Regions from separate parts of the Homo sapiens genome. Here regions 1, 2, 3 and 4 are each linked to region 5. Evidence: promoter capture Hi-C in 16 types of primary human blood cells and fetal thymus (Javierre and others, 2016). All regions are on one chromosome and are shown on one strand. The core of a region is centred on a gene start or on the middle of the fragment in contact, and the rest is flanking DNA. Distances in the headings are between cores, read along the strand shown.

Region 1 (3,482 bases), core at 391-2,890, 500 kb before region 5:
TTCCCTCCTTACACCAGTGGACTGGAAAGTGAAGGGAAGGGAAAGAGAGAGATGGGGGGAATGAGAGAGACACAGAGAAGAAGAGATAGAATGAGAAAGAAGCAGGGAGAGACAGACAGAGGTGGAAAGAGAGATGGAGAGAAAGACAGAGAGATGAGAGAAAGACAGAGAGAGATGAAGAAAGAATGACAGAATTATAGAGATGGGGAAAGAGAGAGATGGAGAGGGAGGGACAGGCAGAGACAGAGAATGAAAGACAGGAGAGACAGAGATGGAGAGAGACAGAGAGAATGAGAAACTGAGAGAAACACAGAGAGAATGAAAGAGACAAAGAGACAGAGTCAGTGACAGAGAGAGGGAGATAGAGACAGAGACAGAGAGACAGTAAAAGAAAATGAGAAAGACAGTAAGCAACAGAGAGTGGGAGGAAGAGAGAGACAGAGAAATAATGACAGGAGACAGAAAGGCCAAGAGAGAGAAGAGAGTCTTCAGATACGGGAGGTTTCCCGAGTGACTCAGAACTTGTGCTTCGAAACAGACAAGCCTGGGTCCCATCTTGTGCCATGAATTCTACTTCTGCAACACAGGATGCCTATTCAATCTTCCTGGACCTTTTCCACTTTGCTTCCCTTCTTTTGTCTGGGAAATGGGGAACTCTGTTAGGGATGGTGTGTAACACAGGGTAGGCAGTTTGTGAAATTGCCAAAATACATTGGAAATCCTCAAGATTTTGTTTTTCCTTTAAATAGAAGCAGCCATGGCTGCAAAGATTCAAGCTGCTGTCTCTTCCTTCAGGGCTGGGCAGAGAGCCCAGAATCCAGGTGACAGACCAGCAGGATGGAGTCAGGGCGGAGTGCACATCAGCAGGCTGTTTCCCCAAGTCCTGGGTGGAACGGAGAGACTTCAGGGGCCAGGCTAGGCCTGCTGTGACCAATCTATCAGCCTCAGCCACCACCAGGCTCTGGGCTGTGGCATCCAGCTTGACGCTCTGGGACAGGGCTGTGGAGGGTCTCTCCTGCTCCATCTCCAGCCCCCTCCTCCCTGAAAGGAGGAAGGTGGCTGAGAGCCACCTGCCCGGTGAGTCCTCTATTCAGTTCTGTCCTCACAATCACTGAGCACAGGATTCCGTGGCCCTGGACACTGGGGACATTAAGAGACAGCTGTGGGGTTTGTGGCAAGCAGGGATGGGTGGCAGGTCCCTGTCCTCACATGGCTGGGGCATCCCAGGAGGTGCACTGTTTGGGTGCTGATTACTGAAGAGGAACAGAGATAAGGGTGCAGGGACCCTGGGGAGAGCCTTGCCTTTGGGGGAACAAGAAATGTACATCCTAATATCAACAGTTTTTAGGGTTTTTTAAAATAGGCTTTATTTTTTAAAGCAGTTTTAGGGTCACAACAAATTTTAGTAGAAAGTCCAGAGAGTTCCCATCTTCCCCTAACCCCCTCACACACCTTCCCCCAGCATAAAAACCCTACACCAGAAGGAACGTCCACCATGTTTGATGAACTTCCGTTGACAATGCCGTCAGCACCCAGAGTGCAGTTTTCATGAGGGCTCACTCTTGGCATGGTGTCCCATGGTTCTAGATAAATATATAATGCCACATATCTGTCATAGTATCATACAAAATAATGTCACTGCCCTTAATCCTCCGTGCTCCGCTCATTCATTCATCTCCCCTAACTCCTGGCCACCACTGATGTTTTCACTGTCTCCATAGTTTCCAGGTGTTCTGGAATGTCCTGTAGTTGGGACGGTGCCTCTGTAGCCCCTTCACTTTGACTTCCCTCACTTTGTGGTACGCATTTAGGTTTCCTCCATGTCTTTTCCTGCCTTGATAACTTGTTTCTTTTGTGAAATGAATAACGTTCCAGGATCTGGATGGACCACTGTTTATTGATCCATTCACCTACTAAAAAATATCTTGGTTGTTTCCAAATTTAGCTTTTCACAAAAACTTTCACTTTTACTTTTCTAAATGATGTCAAACTTACAGAAACTTTGCAAGATTAATAGAAAAGTTGTCTGTGCACCCTTTACTCAGATTCACCATATTTTTACCTTATTGCGATATTTCTTTTTATCACTTCTCCCTTTGTCTATCTACAAATAGATATCTAATATCTACTTCCTATGCATATGTCTAAACCCAACTGTCTTACTCCATTTGTGTGCCTATAACAAAATACCACAGACCAGGTGGCTTAGAAACAAGAGATAGCTATTGCCCACAGTTTTGTAAGCTGGGAAGTCCAAGATCAAGGCGTGGCAGATTTGGTGTCTGGCAAGGGCACTTCCTGGTTCATAGACAGCGCCTTCTCACTGTGTCCTCACATGGTGGAAGGGGTGAGGGAGCTCTCTGGGCTCTCCCCTTTATAAGGGCACCATTCCCATCATATCCGTTACAGGGGCTCCACCCTCATGACCTCATCACTTCCCAAAGGCCTCACCTCCTAACATCATCACCGTAGGGGTTGGGATTTCAACCCCTTTGGGGGACACAGACATTCGGTCCATAGACCAGCTGTGCAAATACATACTATTTTGGAAACTATTTCACAGTAATTTGCAAATATTATGTCCCTGGACTACTGAACTCTTTAGCAAGTTTGACCTCAGAACACAGAAACTCTCTTACCCCAATATTCCTGGCTTCTGGGAATCTTCTCCAGCTACCTTCTCCAGAAGCTCCCAGTTCACGGCATGGAAAGCAGCTCTGCCTCTGATCCTTGTTGCCATGGGACTCGTAATAGCTGGAGGCATCTGCATCTTCTGGAAACGTCAAAGGGAAAAGAACAAAGCATCACTGGAAGAAGAGAGGGAGTGAAGAGAAAAGGAGCAGAGGCGGCCCACCAGCAGCGACAAGGCTGAGCCATGGCGTGGTGAGCAGGGAGCCCCGACAAGGCACATCCTGCCCCCCCACCCCAAATCCAGGACCCTAACACGAAGCCCTGAGCTGAGGCTTCGTCCATGTGTCCTCAGACACAGTAGGAATGGGGTGGCCAGTGGGGATCCTCCCTCTGGCATTGCCTGATTATGATCTACCCAGTGAGACCATCTGTCTCCTAGCAATCCCTCAATTAAGTCTTCACTGGCTGATTTCAGGCAGGCTGGTTGGGCTCTGTCTTGAAAACAGACAGATCTGAGTTTGAACCCCAAGTCTGATGGGTGTGGGCTGAGGGACCTGGTGTGAGCCCTGAGCCACTCTGTCTGCTGGGAGTGCTGATACCATCCTGAAAGACCAACAGAGTAGCATTCAGAGCAAGGCCGCGTCAGGGAGGGTTTACAGTTGCAATCACTGTGATTATTCTCAATATTGACTGTGTCCTTCATTCATTCACTTCACTCACTTCCTCCTCTGTCATTTCAGGAGCTGAGGACTTGTTCCTAGACTTCAGAGCCCTATTTTGAGAGTAGAGATTGTGCTCAGCTGGTTATAAAGACTGCATTATGACAGAGTTGCTTGTGGTGGCTTGCAGCT
Region 2 (3,727 bases), core at 450-2,949, 430 kb before region 5:
GTTTGGCCAAGGCTGTGCTTCCCTGCCCGAGGGATGGCCACTTTGCAGGCTGTAACCCTCTACAAGAAGTGAAATCTGCTTTTCCAATTTATAGATCCTGTGATTTTTTCAGTTAACGCAAAGATAAAGCTGGACATTAAAGCAGTGAAAACAGATTTCCATTCAGTGCCAGCTGCAGTCAGTACAGAGTCGCCTCCATTGTAATTTGTGTAGGGGTGGCGGGGTGTCTTAAAGGGAAGGAGATGGGGTGAGCGGGGGCTCCGTGCCAATCAGATGAGACCATCTGTGTCTGCTAGTCAGCCAGGCCCAAAGTCAGGATTCTACCTTCTGGCAGAGACTAAGGCCTTCTCCCTCCTGGTTTCAAAGGAATGGCTCTGGGTTCCTCGAGGAGCCACTGCTAGATTGTAGGAGACACATGGACATCTCAACACGCCAAAGGAAGCATTCCCAGTTGTGAGCTGGTTTCAGTAAATGCTCTAGGAAAGGAAGAGCCTGGACCAGTCTTCAGGTGTTGGCTGGAATAGAACAGCAAATTCCTGCCACAGCTGCTATGGTCTGAATATTTGTGTCCTCTGATGTAGAAAAAAAACAACTGTTTTTCCTCTGATCTCACAACACAACAATGAACACAGAAGACATCTGTGACCAAACATGTGAGGATTTCTCCCTATCAGCAAGCAAGCAAGCAACCAATGTTTTAGTGGGCACCAGTTAGGTGTCCTTGAACCCAATTTAATTCCGACTTCAGCCAGGCACAGTGGCTCATGCCTTGGTAATCCCAGCGTTGGGAGGCAGAGGTGGGAGGGAATTGCTTGAGCCCAGGAACTGGAGACCAGTCTGGGCAACATAGCAAGACTCTGTCTCTACAAGAATGAAATAAGTAGCTGAGCACGATGGTGCATGCCTGTAGTCCCAGCTGCTCAGGAGACTGAAGTAGGATTGCTTGAGCCCAGGAGTTCCAGGCTGCAGTGAGCTAGGGTCTCACCACTGCATTCCAGCCTCGGCAACAGAGCAAGACCCCATCTCAAATAATCATAACAATAAAAAAACTAAATAAATAAACAAATTCTGACAGTATCTACCTGGAGATTGCATCAGATCCTATAGGTTGAGGGCTCAGTCCCCGAGGCTGCCTCTACTTCAGACACCATGGGCAAGTCCAAGCCTCCAGAACTTCTGACCAGCTGTAACTTGGAGTTCCCTCGACTCCCTCTTTAAGCTTGATTAATTTGTTAGAGCAGCTCATAAAACTAGAGAAACACTTACTTACATTTACCTGTTTATTTAAAGAATAGTTTAAGGCTACAAATAAATAGCCAGATGAAGGAATGCAGAGGGAGAGTTCTGCAAAGGTCCAAGCGCAGGGCCTTCTGACCCAGCGGAGTTGGGCTGCGCCACCCTCCCAGCCTGCAAATGAATTCTCCCTCACCCTTCCTGCAAGCCCCCACGAGTTCAGCCCTCCAGAAGCCCCCAAAACCTGTCCCCTTGGGCCTTTTATGGAGACTTCATTGGATGGACATGATAGAAGACAGCCATGTAGAAATGTGACCGGACAGAAAGTGTGGATGTAACCCCAACAGACTGAGCGGGGAACCCCAGCAGAGCCCATGTGTTCAGACTCTTCTTGGCCTCTCTGGGCAGCATCCTTCCTCCTGGGTATGGGGCAGGACCCTCTCTGAACTGGGAGTCTTATGACCCACAATCAGAAAAGGGAAGTCAGAAAATGTCCTTATGGCCAGGTCCGAGACAGAAAGGTGGGGAAAGACTACAGTTTTCATTTCTGTGGCCTGCCTGGGGAGCAAAACGAGTAGGTAAAAGGAGGGTGGGAGAAGGTCGGAGAGATAGGTTCTGTTTTGGAGGCCTGAGCACCCCAACATTCTAACAAATACTGTTGCTGCAGGACTTTTCCTTAGTTCAGCTAGAGAACTCCGGCCTGTGTAGTGCCTTCAGCTAAGGCGAACAGTGAAAGATGTGGAGGAGGGGAGTTATGAGAAGCAGTGGTGGAGAGGGCCGGCGAGTTAAGGCCTGGCATGTAGATTTCACTGGTGCTGTCTCCTGGCTGATAAGCATCTAAAATCATCTCACATGATTAAATTGATTCCTTCCTGGTGGAGAGGCAAAGACAACTTTGTCCATTTTGTCCTGCTTTTAGGAAAATAGGGGCAAGCAGAAAGCTTTTTTACATCCGTTGTTTCTCAACAATGGATTATTATTGGCCTTCAGCTCCAAATAATCCTTGTGCCAAAGTGGCATCCTTTGGGGAAGAGGTGGCATCCCTTGAGGAGGGGGTGGCACCTTTTAGAGATGGGTGGCTTCCTTTGGAGAGAGGGTGGTATCCTTTGGGGAGGGGTGGCATTGTTTAAGGAGGGGGTGGCATCCTTTGGAGAGGGTGTGGCATCATTTTGGAAGGGGTGGCATCCTTTGGAGGGGGTGGCATCCTTTCGGGAGGGGATAGCACACTCTACAGAGGAGGTGCCATCCTTTGGAGAGTCGGTGGCATCATTTGGGGAGGGAATGGCACCCTTTGGAGAGGAGGGGGCATCCTTTGGGTGGCATCATTTGGGGAGGGGTGGCATCCTTTGGAGGGGGGTAGCATCGTTTGAGGAGGGCTGGCATCCTTTGGGGAGGGGATAGCATCGTTTGAGGAAGGGTGGCATCCTTTGGAGAAGGTGTGGCATTTTTGAGGAGAGGTGGCATTGTTTGGGGAGAGTTGGCATCCTTTGGGGAGGGGGTGGCATTGTTTGGGGAGGGGTGGCACCCTTTGAAGAGGGTGTGGCATCTTTGGGGGAGGGGTGGCATCATTTGGGAAGGGCTGGCATCCTTTGGAGAGGGTATGACATCCTTTGGAAAGTGTGTGGCATCCTTTGGAGAGAGGTGGCAACCTTTGGGGAGGGCACGGCACCCTTTGGGGAGGGGTGGCATCCTTTGGGGAGGGTGTGGCATCCTTTGGAGAGGAGTGGCATCCTTTGGGGAGGGTGTGGCATCCTTTGGGGAGGGTGTGGCATCCTTTGGAGAGGGGGTGGCATCCTTTGGAGAGGGTGTGGTATCCTTTGGAGAGGTGGTGGCACCCTTCAGAGAGGGTGTGGCATCATCTGGGGAGGGAGTGGTGTCATTTGAAGAGGGGTGGCATCCTTTGAAGAGGGTATGGCATCCTTTGGAGAGGGTGTGGCATCGTTTGGGGGAGGGTATGGCATCCTTTGGGGAGGGGTGGCATCCTTTGGAGAGGGTGTGGCATTGTTTTGTGGAGGGGTGGCATCCTTTGGGGAGGGTGTGGCATCCTTTGGGGAGGGGGTGGTATCCTTTGGGGAGGATATTCTCCTATCTTTCAAGAGCAATGTACGTTGAGTGTGGAATGAAGAATAATGAATTATTATGACAAGGATTTGGGCTGTTTTAGATTTAATATGGTCCAGCTAATGCTGACTCCCCACCTCTTTCAATGGGATGAATAGCATTCCCTCACTCTTAAACTAAGAATCCCCAAATGAGAGGTGCACTAATTGCACCTGAGCACCCCCCTTTCATTTGGGGGCCCTGTAGCCACTCACAGACCCACAGGCAGGAAAGGCCAATTTGCGGTTGTGGGGTTGTTTGTTGGCAGTTCACCCCTAAATCCTGGCTAATGTGGGAATCCAAGTCCCTGATTTAGTACACTAGAGATATTTAGAAGTCTACAATAAAAAGCTGACATTATTTTATTATCCCAACTATCCTAAAAGGAACTTTC
Region 3 (3,672 bases), core at 992-3,491, 420 kb before region 5:
GGCGTGCGAGTCTTACCTGGTGGGGCTGTTTGAGGACACCAACCTGTGTGTCATCCATGCCAAACGGGTCACCATCATGCCTAAGGACATCCAGCTGGCACGCCGTATCCGCGGGGAGCGGGCCTAGGAGGGCTATCTCGCCACCTGAGAGGTTGCGCAACGTTCACCCCAAAGGCTCTTTTAAGAGCCACCCACCTGGTCGAAGAGTTGCTGTAGCAAGCTAGTCTCTTGGGTTTCGGGGGGTTCCTTCCGCTGGCCTGTGCTGGCTTACCTACTTCTGATTAGGGTGGGAGGCTGGTGAATCCTGTGTTCACCCTGTCCAGTTAGGAGGCCAGCTACTCACACGCGTTACCTCTCAGCCTGTCTCCAGTCACAAATCCAGCTAGTAGTGTGTGGGGCTAACTTGGCCTATCCGTTTAGATAAGAATCATGGTTGGTCTGTTTTGGGGACGGGGTGTTGAGGGTAGCCTAATTGGTCTATCTCCAGTTAGGTAAGCAACCCCAGCTAGTTGTGTCAACTCAGCCTATCTACAGTTAGGTTGGAAGGCTGGCTGGTCTTGTGTGTTCTCAGCTCAGCCTCTTTCAAATTAGGTTAGAAGTCCTGCGTGTGTGTGTGTGTGTGTACACGCAGCTTGTTTCCAGTGAGGTTACCAGTCCAGCTAGTCTTCTGCCTTGACAGCCCATCTCCTGTTAAGGCCAGCAAGTAGTATGTATTATCTTGGCCTATTTTAAGTTAGAAGTCCAGCTACTTCACCAGCATAGCAGCTTACGCCTGTAATCCCAGCACTTTGGGAGGCCGAGGCGGGTGTATCACCTGAGGTCAGGAGTTCCAGACCAGCCTGGCCAACATGGTGAAACCCCATCTCTAAAATTAGCCGGGTTTGGTGGCGCATACCTGTAATCCCAGCTACTTGGGAGGCTGAGGCAGGAGAACTGCTTGAACCCAGGGGGCGGAGGTTGCAGTGAGCCAAGATCATGCCACTGCACTGCAGCGTGGGCAACAGAACGAGACTCAATCTCAAAAAAAAAAACAAAAAAAAGTCCAGCTACTTGTGTGTTTTAACTCAGCCTACCTCCTGTTAATTTAGAAGGCTGGCTAGTTGTGTATCTTTTTAACTTGGGCTATCTCCCATTAGGTTAGAAGGCTGGCTAGGGGTGTGTGTGTGTGCACGTGCACCCATGTGCACACATATGTAGCTGTGGTGTTGGCCCATCTCGGGTTAGAAGTCCATCTCATTGTATGTGTTAACATACCCAATCTCCCATTCAGTTAAAAGGCTGGCTAGTCATGTATGTTGTAAATTCACCCTGTCTTCTGTTAGGGTAGATGACTAGCTAGTTGTGTGTGAGAAGCCCAGCTAGGCATGTGCATTGTTAATTCCTAAGTGAAATCAATACTGGGAAACCCCAGCCCAAAGTTCAAAGAGGGCACTCTGCCCTGGAAGTCAGTTTACTGAGCAGTCGCAGACAGGCGTGGCCCATGTGCCCAGCACTTTGAAACAGGCTTCCCAGCGCCACAAAGTAGTCTGGCAGTGCTCTGGGGATGAGAGACACAGAGACCAACTTGCTGAGAAATCCTACAGCTAGGGCAGCAGGCCACAGATCCAATAGTAGACTTATGTCAGGAAAACCTGAGGATGGCTGTGAGGATAAGGATGTAGGGATTGTCTCCCTCTGGTACAGGTTGGAATCATTTATTTGTGAAAGGCTTTATTAAATTGAATGAGGCCAAGCACTACCCCATGCTGGGATCATGGAGGGAATAAAATCCATTTCCTGTGGCTGCTGCCCACTCTGCTTTCAAGGTGCTTATGCTTGAGTGAAGGGGGCCTGTATTGTGTGTAGAAGCAATGATAGTAAAAGGTGCTCTTATACATAGCAAGGGATGTGCATAAAGTGCTATCAATAGGCAACAGTGGATTTTATAAGTCTCTTTGAACCCAATTTATAGCCTGTTGACTCAAAATTCAAAAGCTTCATCAATTTATTAGTACACACACAACTGAACATCATACCCTTTAAATCTCAGGATGTATTTAAACTTATGAGTGCCAGATCCTTGGAGGGCTATCCAGAAAGCCTAGAATATTCAGGGACAGCTATGTTCTGGTTTTGAAAGTCAGCTCTGACTTTCAATACTAGACTCCTTTGGGATAAATTTAAGTTTTCCCTTTTTGTTTTGTTTTTTCAGAGACAGGGTCTTGCCATGCTGCCCAGGCTAGAGTACAGTGGCTATTCACAGACGTGAGCATAGTGGCCAGCCTTGAACTCCTGGGCTCAAGCCATCTTCCTGCCTTAGCCTCCCGAGCAGGTGAAGTTCAAGTCTTCTGTGCTTTACAAAGCCCTTGTCCTAACAAAGTCTTGCCCAGTGGTGGAGAGCTAAACCTATGTAACCTTGCTGATGATCTTGCTGGATAGCCTGGAGGGAGCAGGAATTTGGGCAGTTAGCTACATTTGCGGAACTGGATGCAGATAATGCATTCTTGACAGGATCATGATCAAGCTTTGCCTTCTGTAGGAGACCAAGCCACTTAAGCAGCCCCCTGTCATTCTGGTCTTTGTATGAAGAACAGAGTCTAAGTTGGGCAGTGTGGCACATGCCTGTAATCCTAGCTACTGGGGAGGCGAGAGGATGGCTTGAGCCCAGGAGTTTTTGAGGCCAATCTGGGCAACAGACCCTGTCAAAAACAACAACAATAACAAAAACAACAACAACAACAACAAAAAACAAGAGCTTGGCCTTATATGTTCCTTGTTTTCACTGATTAATGGAGTGGATAGTGCACTAATTGTGCCCTATAAAGATACAGCAAGGCAATACAGGGCAATTTGTATCTCAGAACTGATTGCTGAGGACCTAAGGTGAGGAGCTAAGGAAGGAAGTTTAGACACAGGAAAAAAGTAACTGAAGTCTTTCTGGGTCGTGTAAGTGGGCACTTGAGGAAGTCTTTCCAGCCAGGCATAGTGGCTCATGCCTATAATCCCAGCTTTTTGGGAGGCTGAGATGGGAGGATTTCTTGAGGCCAAGGAGTTCAAGACCAGCCTGGACAACATGGCAAGACTCTGTCTCTACAAAAAATACAAAAATTATCTGGGCATGATGGCGTGTGCCTGTGGTCTTAACTACTTAGAAGGCTGAGGTGGGAAGATCGCTTGAGCCCAAGAGTTCCAGGTTACAGTGAGCAGTAAGCCGTGATCACACCACTGCACTCCATTCTGGGCAACAGAGCCAGACCCTTACAATTACGACCAGAGCCTTTGCTTCTGTATCCTGTGGGTTCTAACGATGTGAGATAGTAACTGAAATGTGGATATCTGTTCACTGTGTACTCAACTCTTCGAGCGCATGTACACTATGGAGGTAGCCTGAGCATGCAGTGTTTATAAAAGTGGAAAGAGTGGTTCTAAATATCAAAAAGTTAAAATTCCAGAAATAATAGAAAGGAGAGTTAGGCATTAAGAGATAGTGCTATGGGCCTTGGTGGACTGAACAAAGGAGGACAAAAGTGGGAATAAAGACAAAGACAAAAGAGTATATTTGGAAAAAGGGGTCAGGGGGCTCCTTGCTTCTAGTGAACAAGGGCCCTGAGCTTCTAGAGCCCTTCTTATTAAGTAAAGGAGACAGGGATAAGGGGGTGGTTGTGGTCAGCTGCTTGACTTAGTGCAGGCCTG
Region 4 (3,518 bases), core at 106-2,605, 370 kb before region 5:
CTTGACCTCTGGGCTCACCTCCCGAGTAGCTGGTACCATGCTGGTGGCATGCACCACCATGCCAAGCTAATTTTTTATTTTTTGTAGAGACAAGAGTCTCCCTATTATTGCCCAGGCTTGTCTTGAACTCCTGGGCTCCAGTGATCCTCCTACCTCAGCCTCCCAAAGTGCTGGGATTACAGGTGTGAGCCACTGTGCCTGGCCGATGCTTGGATTTTGATTCAAAGTGTCCTGGGCTCAGTAAGATTTCAGGGGAGGTGTTCAGCATTTGGACATTGCAGAATGGACCCATCAGCATGTGGTCGTCATTGGGCCCCTGAGATGAGCTGAGAATCAGGAGGGTAGAGACTGCTGTCTACACCCTGCAGCCCCAGCCCCCCAGGAACGAAGCTGTCGTCCAACGTCAGCCTTGTTGCTGGGGACAGTGGAGATCATATCCCCACCCCGGGAACCCTGGGGCTGCTCGAGAAGAGGATGCTATGAAGAGCTGACTGTTTTGGTGATTAAAAGGAGTGTTTAAAACAACCGGGCCTCATTCTGGGTTGCATGCTGTCAGAGAGAGCCAGGACAACTCCATCACTGGATGTCCCCATAAATCTAAGCTGGCCAGGAATCAGCATGACCCATTTTAGCCAAGAGGGGTCGGTTAGCCTCCTCTCCATCTATGCTTAGACATAGGTATGAGGGGCCTGGCCTTGTGTCTGAGGGACCTCTGCAAAAGGTTTTATGTGCAAGAGGAGAAGGCCCTCCCTGCCAGCTCCCAGGTCTCCTGGGCTGCACCTATCTCAAGTTCCCTTTCCCACGTCAAAGAATAGGAGAAAGGACATTCAGCAGCGTTTGAGAGACAACGCGCGCACCCCACGGCCCAGGCTTCCTGCACTCCTGGCAAGGGGCAGGGCGGGGCTCGGCCAGCGTAGTCATTGCCCATGGAATCTCAAACACTGGGTTGCTTTTCACCGAGGCCACGCGCCAGCGACTCTGAAGCCTCCTCTCCTCCAGCGGATCGTGGCCCGCGGCTTCTCGCCCTCGCTTGCACGCTTTGCCCAAGAACTCTTCCCGGGGCAGAGAAGTTGTGGAAACAAGCGGCTGGCCCGACGGCGGAGAAAGCGGGCTGCGGGGCTGCAGGTCAGCGTGATGGAAGAGAGGAAGGCGCACGGCGGGTGGAATAAACGCGCATGGGTGTGAGGACGGAGACGCCCCGAGGGGCTGAACGCGCGGAGCATCGGAGTGAGGGAGCGACCCCTAAGGACGCCTTCTAAGGGGCTCACAGGCCCAAACACAGCGGGGCAGCCTGATCGGCGCCCCAGCCAGAAAGGCGGGGACAGAGCCCTCACTCCCTCTCCTCCCCAAAAGAAAATAATGCAACGAGACGGAAGACTTCTCGCCCGGCTGTGCGTTTTTATTGGCGCGTCTGCAGCGACCCCCAGCGGGGAGACCAAGGGTGTGGCCGGGGCGACCCTCAGCGCACCTGGGCCAGGTTGTGCCTCTTGTACAGCAGCGCGCGTCTCTTCTCGCGATTGCGCACGAAGACGCGCAGCCGCGCGGTAGGGAAGGTCACGGGCGCGGGCCGCGAACAGGCCGGGCCCTCCTCTGTTAGCCACGGGCACTGCAGGCAGCTGGACGCGCAGGGCCGGCCCCTGGGACGGACATAGGCTCAGCACGTGGCCCAGCGGCGGGAGGGGTGTGGGGAAGGCAAGTGGAAAAGGGGAGAGGGGGAAGGGAGAGTACCGAGGGGAAAGGGAGTGGGGGGGCGGGGCGGGGCGGGACGGAAGGAGGAGGGGGCGGGACGGGAGGAGGGGGCGGGGAGAAGGAGGAGGAGAGGGGCGCGCCTTACCAGGGCTGGGCGCACAGAGTGCTGCGCAGGAAGGCCACGGCGCCCCCGGACAGCCCCGCGTAGCAGCGGCTCAGCCGGACCAGCCCCTTGCGCAGTCCTCTCTGCAGGTCGCGTGCACCCTCGCTGCTCACCGGGTACTCGGCGCTCAGCCTGCGCAGGTGGCGGGTGCACGGGCCCTGAGGTCACCCTCCTTGGGTAGACCAGGGCGGAGGGGGAGGGGATGCAGGAGCACTGAGGTCACCCTCGGGTGGCCGGTGCAGGGGCCGTGAGGTCATCCTCGGGTGGACGAGGGTGCAGGGGCCGTGAGGTCACCCTCAGGTGGACGGGGGTGCAGGGGCCCTGAGGTCACCCTCGGGTGGAGGGGGGAGACTGCCCCGCCCACCTAGCAACCCCCAGACAGGTTGGAGGACTCACATGATGAAGGCTGTCACACCGATGGCCCAGATGTCTGTCTGTGGAACAGCCCCCTGGCCCTCCAGGAGCTCTGGAGCTGGGAGGGGCACATGTGGTTGGGCTCAGGTGGAGGGACACAGGTGGTGGGCATGAGTGAGTGGTCCCAGGTGGGATAGGTGGGGCACAGGTGTGTGGGCCAGGTGTGTGGCTGAGTGGGTGGCAGTGGAGCTGGGAGAGAGGACAGCACTGGAGGAGAGGGGGCTTCTTCCTGCCCCCCGCCCCAGGTGAGGTCCCCCCAACTGTCCACACACGCACCCATGGTCTCTAGGTAGTCCTTGAACTTGTCTGAGGGCAGCACCTTCTCCTGGCTGAGGCTCTGTGCATTGCCCAGGTCCACGACCTTGAGCAGGTTGTATTCGGTGATGATCATGTTCTCGGACCTCAGGTCCAGGTGCAGGATGTGCTGGTTGTGCAGGTACTGGGTGGCACTCAACATCTGCCACAGGTAGTCCTTCACCTCGGATTCTGAGTAGGAGGCCCTGGGGGGCAGAAGCTGCTCAGCCCAGGCTCCGGGGTGGGGGCCACCAGGGCCAGGGCTGAGACTACTCCCCGTGGACTGGGAGGGGCACTGGCTGTGCAGAGGGGCCTGGTCCTCCAGCCCCACCCCAGAGGCCTGGGTCCATCAGTCCATCAGTCCGTCCATCAGCTCAACCACACCACCCCAGGCCACCCTCACCTCTCGGCCAGGCAGGGGAGCAGCTCGGGCCCAGAGCACAGCTCCAAGATGAGCACCAGGTGCCGGGGGCTGAGGTAGGCTGCGTGCAGCTGGGCCAGGTGCGGGTGGCGCAGGCCCTTGAGGGCCTCGTATTCGCGCAGCACTGCTGTCTTGTCCTTGGGGTGGTAGGGGATGATCTTGGCGGCCAGCGCCCGCCCGCTGGCCTTCTCCCAGCATTGCCGCACCACGCTGAAGCGGCCCCTGCTCAAGGGGACAGCGGTCAGGCTGGTGGGTGGTCCCCTCCCATTCCCCGATTCCCAACACTCAGAGCAGCAGGAGCCCAGTTCAGCGAGATGGTGGGTGTGGGGGCATGGGTGGTCAACAAGGGGGGGTCCAGGCCCTGGCCCCACCCGCCTGCAGCCCCCCAGGCCACTGCACCTCTGGATCTGTGTCTGGAATGCGAAGGTCTTTGTGCTGGGCAGGGGTTGGGCTGACCGCCCCTGGCTCTCCTCCTCAGAGGCTGTGGGAGGAGGGGCAGATGATAAGAGGGGGTGAAGAGGGCATCCCCACAGCCCC
Region 5 (3,468 bases), core at 695-3,194:
CGAGGGTGTCTCAGGGTCCATTCAGGGTAGAACACAGGGGGCCCAGGTGAAAAGGAGGTATACATGCATATGAGGTGGATGGGGACCGAGGCTAGGAACCCTCAGGGCCGACAAGACAAAGATCCTAGGGCGCGGGGTTGCCAGGAGGCTGGCGACATTTATGGGAAGGGCGCGGGGCGAAGGAGCTTCCTTTTGCGCTCAGGAACGCGGCGGCGGGTTCTAATTAGAAGCCTGGTGCGTAAGCCGGCAGCCCTCGGGGCTCTCTCGGACGGACGCGCTGCCCCTGGCTCCCTGCGGCCGTCTGGACGCGCGTCAGTATCCCCGCACCCCAAGGCGAGCCCCGAGCCTGACCCTCAGGTGGGCCACTGGGCGCAGCAGGTGCCGCACGGGAAATGGGGCACGCGGAAATAGGGGCGCGCGGGGGTCCCCGAAGCGCGTCCCCGCGGCCTCGTGGCCTCTTCCAGGCCCTTCAGCTGCCTAGGGCTGCCCCTTCCCCTCCCCGCTGCTCCTGGCCCGGCGCCCCTACCGCGGGAGCCCCCGCTCCTGAACCATCTCGAAGAGAAAAATTATTATCGGATTAGATGTACCTCGGCTCGCTGGGTCTCCCCCCTTCCCCTCGGCGTAATTATTATAATTCCAGGCTGCCGTCGGAGAAGGATGGGGGGGAGTGTGCATGCTTGTGGGGAGGCTTCTCTCCAACTGTGGGTCCTACCAGCGCTGCGCCCGGCCCTGCGCGCCCACATTCCTCCCACTTGTGTTCCTCAATCTTGGGCATCTCAGAGCGCCCTTAATTCGGAACTGGGGTGATCCTTGCTTGGTGAGGGCTCTGAGGGATCACAAGCCCTGGCGAAAGTGTGGCCACCGTTCCCCCTCCCACAGGATATGTGCAGTGGAGGTGGGAGGCCTGAGAGAGACCTTTCGGGACCCTTCCTTTGGTTTATCTGCACTTCCATCGCCAGGCTGGGGAGGGTCTCACGGAACGCGCCTTTTCTGGTGTGGAGGGCGCAGCACAGCGCTTTCTGATTGAGGGTCCTGGAGCCCCTCACACCCCGTGCTTAACTCACCCTTAACTCTCTCTACAGCAGCCCCTCATTGCCAGGTGGACCCATGCGGAGGGCTCGCAGAGAGGGCCCCTGGAAACCCCCGTGCCCGGACTGCGGCGGGGAGGCGCGCGGGGCCCAGGGCCGGCCCCCAGTGCGCCCCGCCGCCGGCTCTGCGCCACTCCCCGCCGGGTCCCAGCTTTCTTTACGTAACCACGCTGCTCCGAGCTGTTCAGTCTTGTCTCATCGACTTTGTTTTAAAACGTGTGTGTGTGTTTGTGTGTAAGATACGGTTTTTGAGGAAAGTCTCCGGCGAATTCTCTCTCGCTGGCCCTCTTCCCTCGCCTGTCCCCTGGCCTCGAGCTGCCTGTCCCCTCGGTGACCGTGCGTGCCGACCTTCTTTCAGCCTCTCCCCAGCCCACTGCTCGCCCTGTCCGACGCCAGGGGCAGCTAGGACCTCCGCAACCTCCCCTACTCCCCCGCTCGGGAATCAATGTCTCCGGAAACTCCGCCACCCACGCGTCCCAGCGGCCTGAACAGGTCCAAAGTGGCCGTCAAGGAAAACCAACCGCCCGCGGCCCGCACGCGGGGCTGGAGCAGAAGGGCGCGGGCTCGGGCCACCGCGGGGTCCCTGCCCGAGGGGACCGTCTGCTGCGGGCGCGGCGCACAGGGGCAGGGGCGAACGCGAGGAGGCTCACTCACCACCAGATCGGGTAGCTGCCCAGAGCCTGCTTCAGGCTGCAGAGGAGTAAGAAGTATCCGAGTGGGGCCATCGCCGCGCGAGAGGGCGCGGAGGGCCGGGAGTCCGCCCCGAGAGCGTGAGCGCCGGGGGGGGCCGGGCCCTGGGAGCTGGCGCGGCGGCGTCGCTGGGCCCTCCTGCGGCCGCGGGTGCGCGGGTGTGCGCGGGCTCCGAGGGCGGCGCTGCGCCAGGTGGGCCGGCGGCCGGGCTGCGGGCCGAGGCCCGGGGCGGCGCGGGGCGGCGGGGGCGGGGCAGCGCCGCGGGGGGCGCCCGCCGGGGCCGGGGCCCGGGCGGGGCAGGCAGGGGCAGGCGGGGCCACGGGAGCCCGAACCGCGGCGGCGGCGTTGGCCCCCGCCTGCTGCCGTGGGTGTCGGTGTGTCTGAGGACGTGCTGGTGTGCGGGCCCCCAGGTGTGCGCGGCGCGCTGGGGTGCGCCAGATGGGCAGGCGGCCGGCCCGGGGCCGCGCGATCCGCAGGCGCCCTCCTGGAGCTCCCGGGCCGCGTCCTGGGTTTCCAGCCCCGCGCGCCCTGCGCTCACGGTGGGACCCGCAGTCCCCCTCTCGCTCCTGGTCTGTGGCGAGCTCCGTCTCTTGCCCCCGAGGTGGCTGGGCTAGGGCTCCCCTTCATCCATCAACCTTCTCGGGGCGGGGGTTTGGGGAGGGAGCGGACGGTTGTCGGGTGCACGTCCTTTGGCCCCGTCTGCCTGCGGCCGGACTCCTTCCGCTGAGACCAGAGCTGCCTGCGCCTTCGGCGGATAGAAAGGGTCCGGGATGGGTGCAGCCTGCAATGGGGACAGCGGCCAGGTGGACCTCCAAGGTGCAGCCACGCGTCTGTGGGTCACAGCTGGGGACGAGTGGGACTCTCTCTGTGGCGCAGGGATTGACCCCTCCATTTTTCTCCCCATCACTCCACCAGGGAAGAGAACAGTGGAAGCCCCTGACGCGATGGGACGGTGGGGAAGCGCAGTGCTGCCCCCAGGTTCTGGGACCACCAACCTCCAGGTCTGCCCAGAGCTATGCAGCCTGTTCCGACAGAGGGATTTCTGACTGTTTAGTTAAGCTTTAGGAGTTTGCTGATGGAGAGGGGAAGACCTGAGAGGGAAAGTGACTTGCCCAAGGTCACCCAGTGACCAGTCAACTCTCCAGCTCCCAGTCATTTGCATATCCATGTGTTGCCCCGGGAGCCGCCTGGGGAGATTGTAATTTGCAGAGGGGAAGTGTCCCCAGCCTCCCCCGGGGGACCTGATAACTGGGATGGTTAAGAGGCACTCTCCCATCGCGGCTGGTCCTCCTGCAGTCACACTGTGACCTAAGCTCAGCAGGAATCTTGGTTACCGCGTTGGAATTGAGGAAGGAGGCTCCGGGAGCTTCTGAGAGCTCCAAGCAACTCCAGACTCATCCGTGGTGTGTTCTCTGGGGATACTGCACTGCCCAGCCTGTGGGCTAGGCCTCCTGTGCGGCTGCAGAGTTGCGGGAGGGAGGTGCATGGAGAGGCAGGGATGGGCATGTGGCCGCTTCTGTGCAGCTTCTCAGGGAGGGGGTGGCTGAGATGTCCCCAGGTGTGTCACTGGCTGGCTGATGGAGGCAGCTGCTTCCCACAGTGTGCCCCACTCACAACTTGGTTCTGCGTTTGCAGAGGGAGCCTGTGGTCCTGTGGACACCGGCCCTAGGGGTCACCTGGTGACTATGTC

What was found. Contacts are between HindIII fragments. The CHiCAGO score rates a contact against its expected background, and 5 or more counts as called.
Region 1: a fragment that was not itself captured here is called in contact with the fragment with the promoter of WNT3A in region 5 in 1 of 17 cell types (M0 macrophages); the score reaches 7.3 in M0 macrophages.
Region 2: a contact is called between a fragment that was not itself captured here and the fragment with the promoter of WNT3A in region 5, in 4 of 17 cell types (M0 macrophages, M1 macrophages, endothelial precursors and 1 more). The highest score is 6.8, in M0 macrophages.
Region 3: a contact is called between a fragment that was not itself captured here and the fragment with the promoter of WNT3A in region 5, in 1 of 17 cell types (monocytes). The highest score is 6.6, in monocytes.
Region 4: a fragment that was not itself captured here is called in contact with the fragment with the promoter of WNT3A in region 5 in 1 of 17 cell types (monocytes); the score reaches 5.2 in monocytes.

Annotation. Positions count from the first base shown.
Region 1 is chr1:228,507,992-228,511,473 of GRCh38, reverse strand. LOC105373124 (a long non-coding RNA gene) reads right to left here and starts at 3,427. Exons shown (of 3, transcript XR_949233.3): 1 at 3,352-3,427; 2 at 2,640-2,773; 3 at 1,342-1,583. It also overlaps the pseudogene BTNL10P. RefSeq lists an enhancer at 1-336. The HindIII fragment of the contact is 4,514 bases long and covers 1-3,482 here.
Region 2 is chr1:228,437,845-228,441,571 of GRCh38, reverse strand. All of the region lies in intron 1 of LOC124904538 (a long non-coding RNA gene), which reads left to right. Among named protein-coding and RNA genes, the nearest start is that of H3-4, 14 kb to the right of the region's middle. RefSeq lists a silencer at 899-1,183. The HindIII fragment of the contact is 955 bases long and covers 1,222-2,176 here.
Region 3 is chr1:228,421,370-228,425,041 of GRCh38, reverse strand. It overlaps H3-4 (H3.4 histone, cluster member), which reads left to right. Exons shown (of 1, transcript NM_003493.3): 1 at 1-197. The coding sequence ends at 127. Among named protein-coding and RNA genes, the nearest start is that of H3-4, 2.2 kb to the left of the region's middle. The HindIII fragment of the contact is 529 bases long and covers 1,977-2,505 here.
Region 4 is chr1:228,376,737-228,380,254 of GRCh38, reverse strand. OBSCN (obscurin, cytoskeletal calmodulin and titin-interacting RhoGEF) reads right to left here. Exons shown (of 116, transcript NM_001386125.1): 111 at 3,381-3,462; 112 at 2,964-3,203; 113 at 2,543-2,766; 114 at 2,249-2,324; 115 at 1,835-1,984; 116 at 1,379-1,637. The coding sequence ends at 1,460. Among named protein-coding and RNA genes, the nearest start is that of TRIM11-AS1, 16 kb to the left of the region's middle. RefSeq lists an enhancer at 1,588-1,657. The HindIII fragment of the contact is 9,621 bases long and covers 1-3,518 here.
Region 5 is chr1:228,005,474-228,008,941 of GRCh38, reverse strand. It overlaps WNT3A (Wnt family member 3A), which reads right to left and starts at 1,944. Exons shown (of 4, transcript NM_033131.4): 1 at 1,743-1,944. The coding sequence starts at 1,813. The HindIII fragment of the contact is 11,751 bases long and covers 1-2,839 here.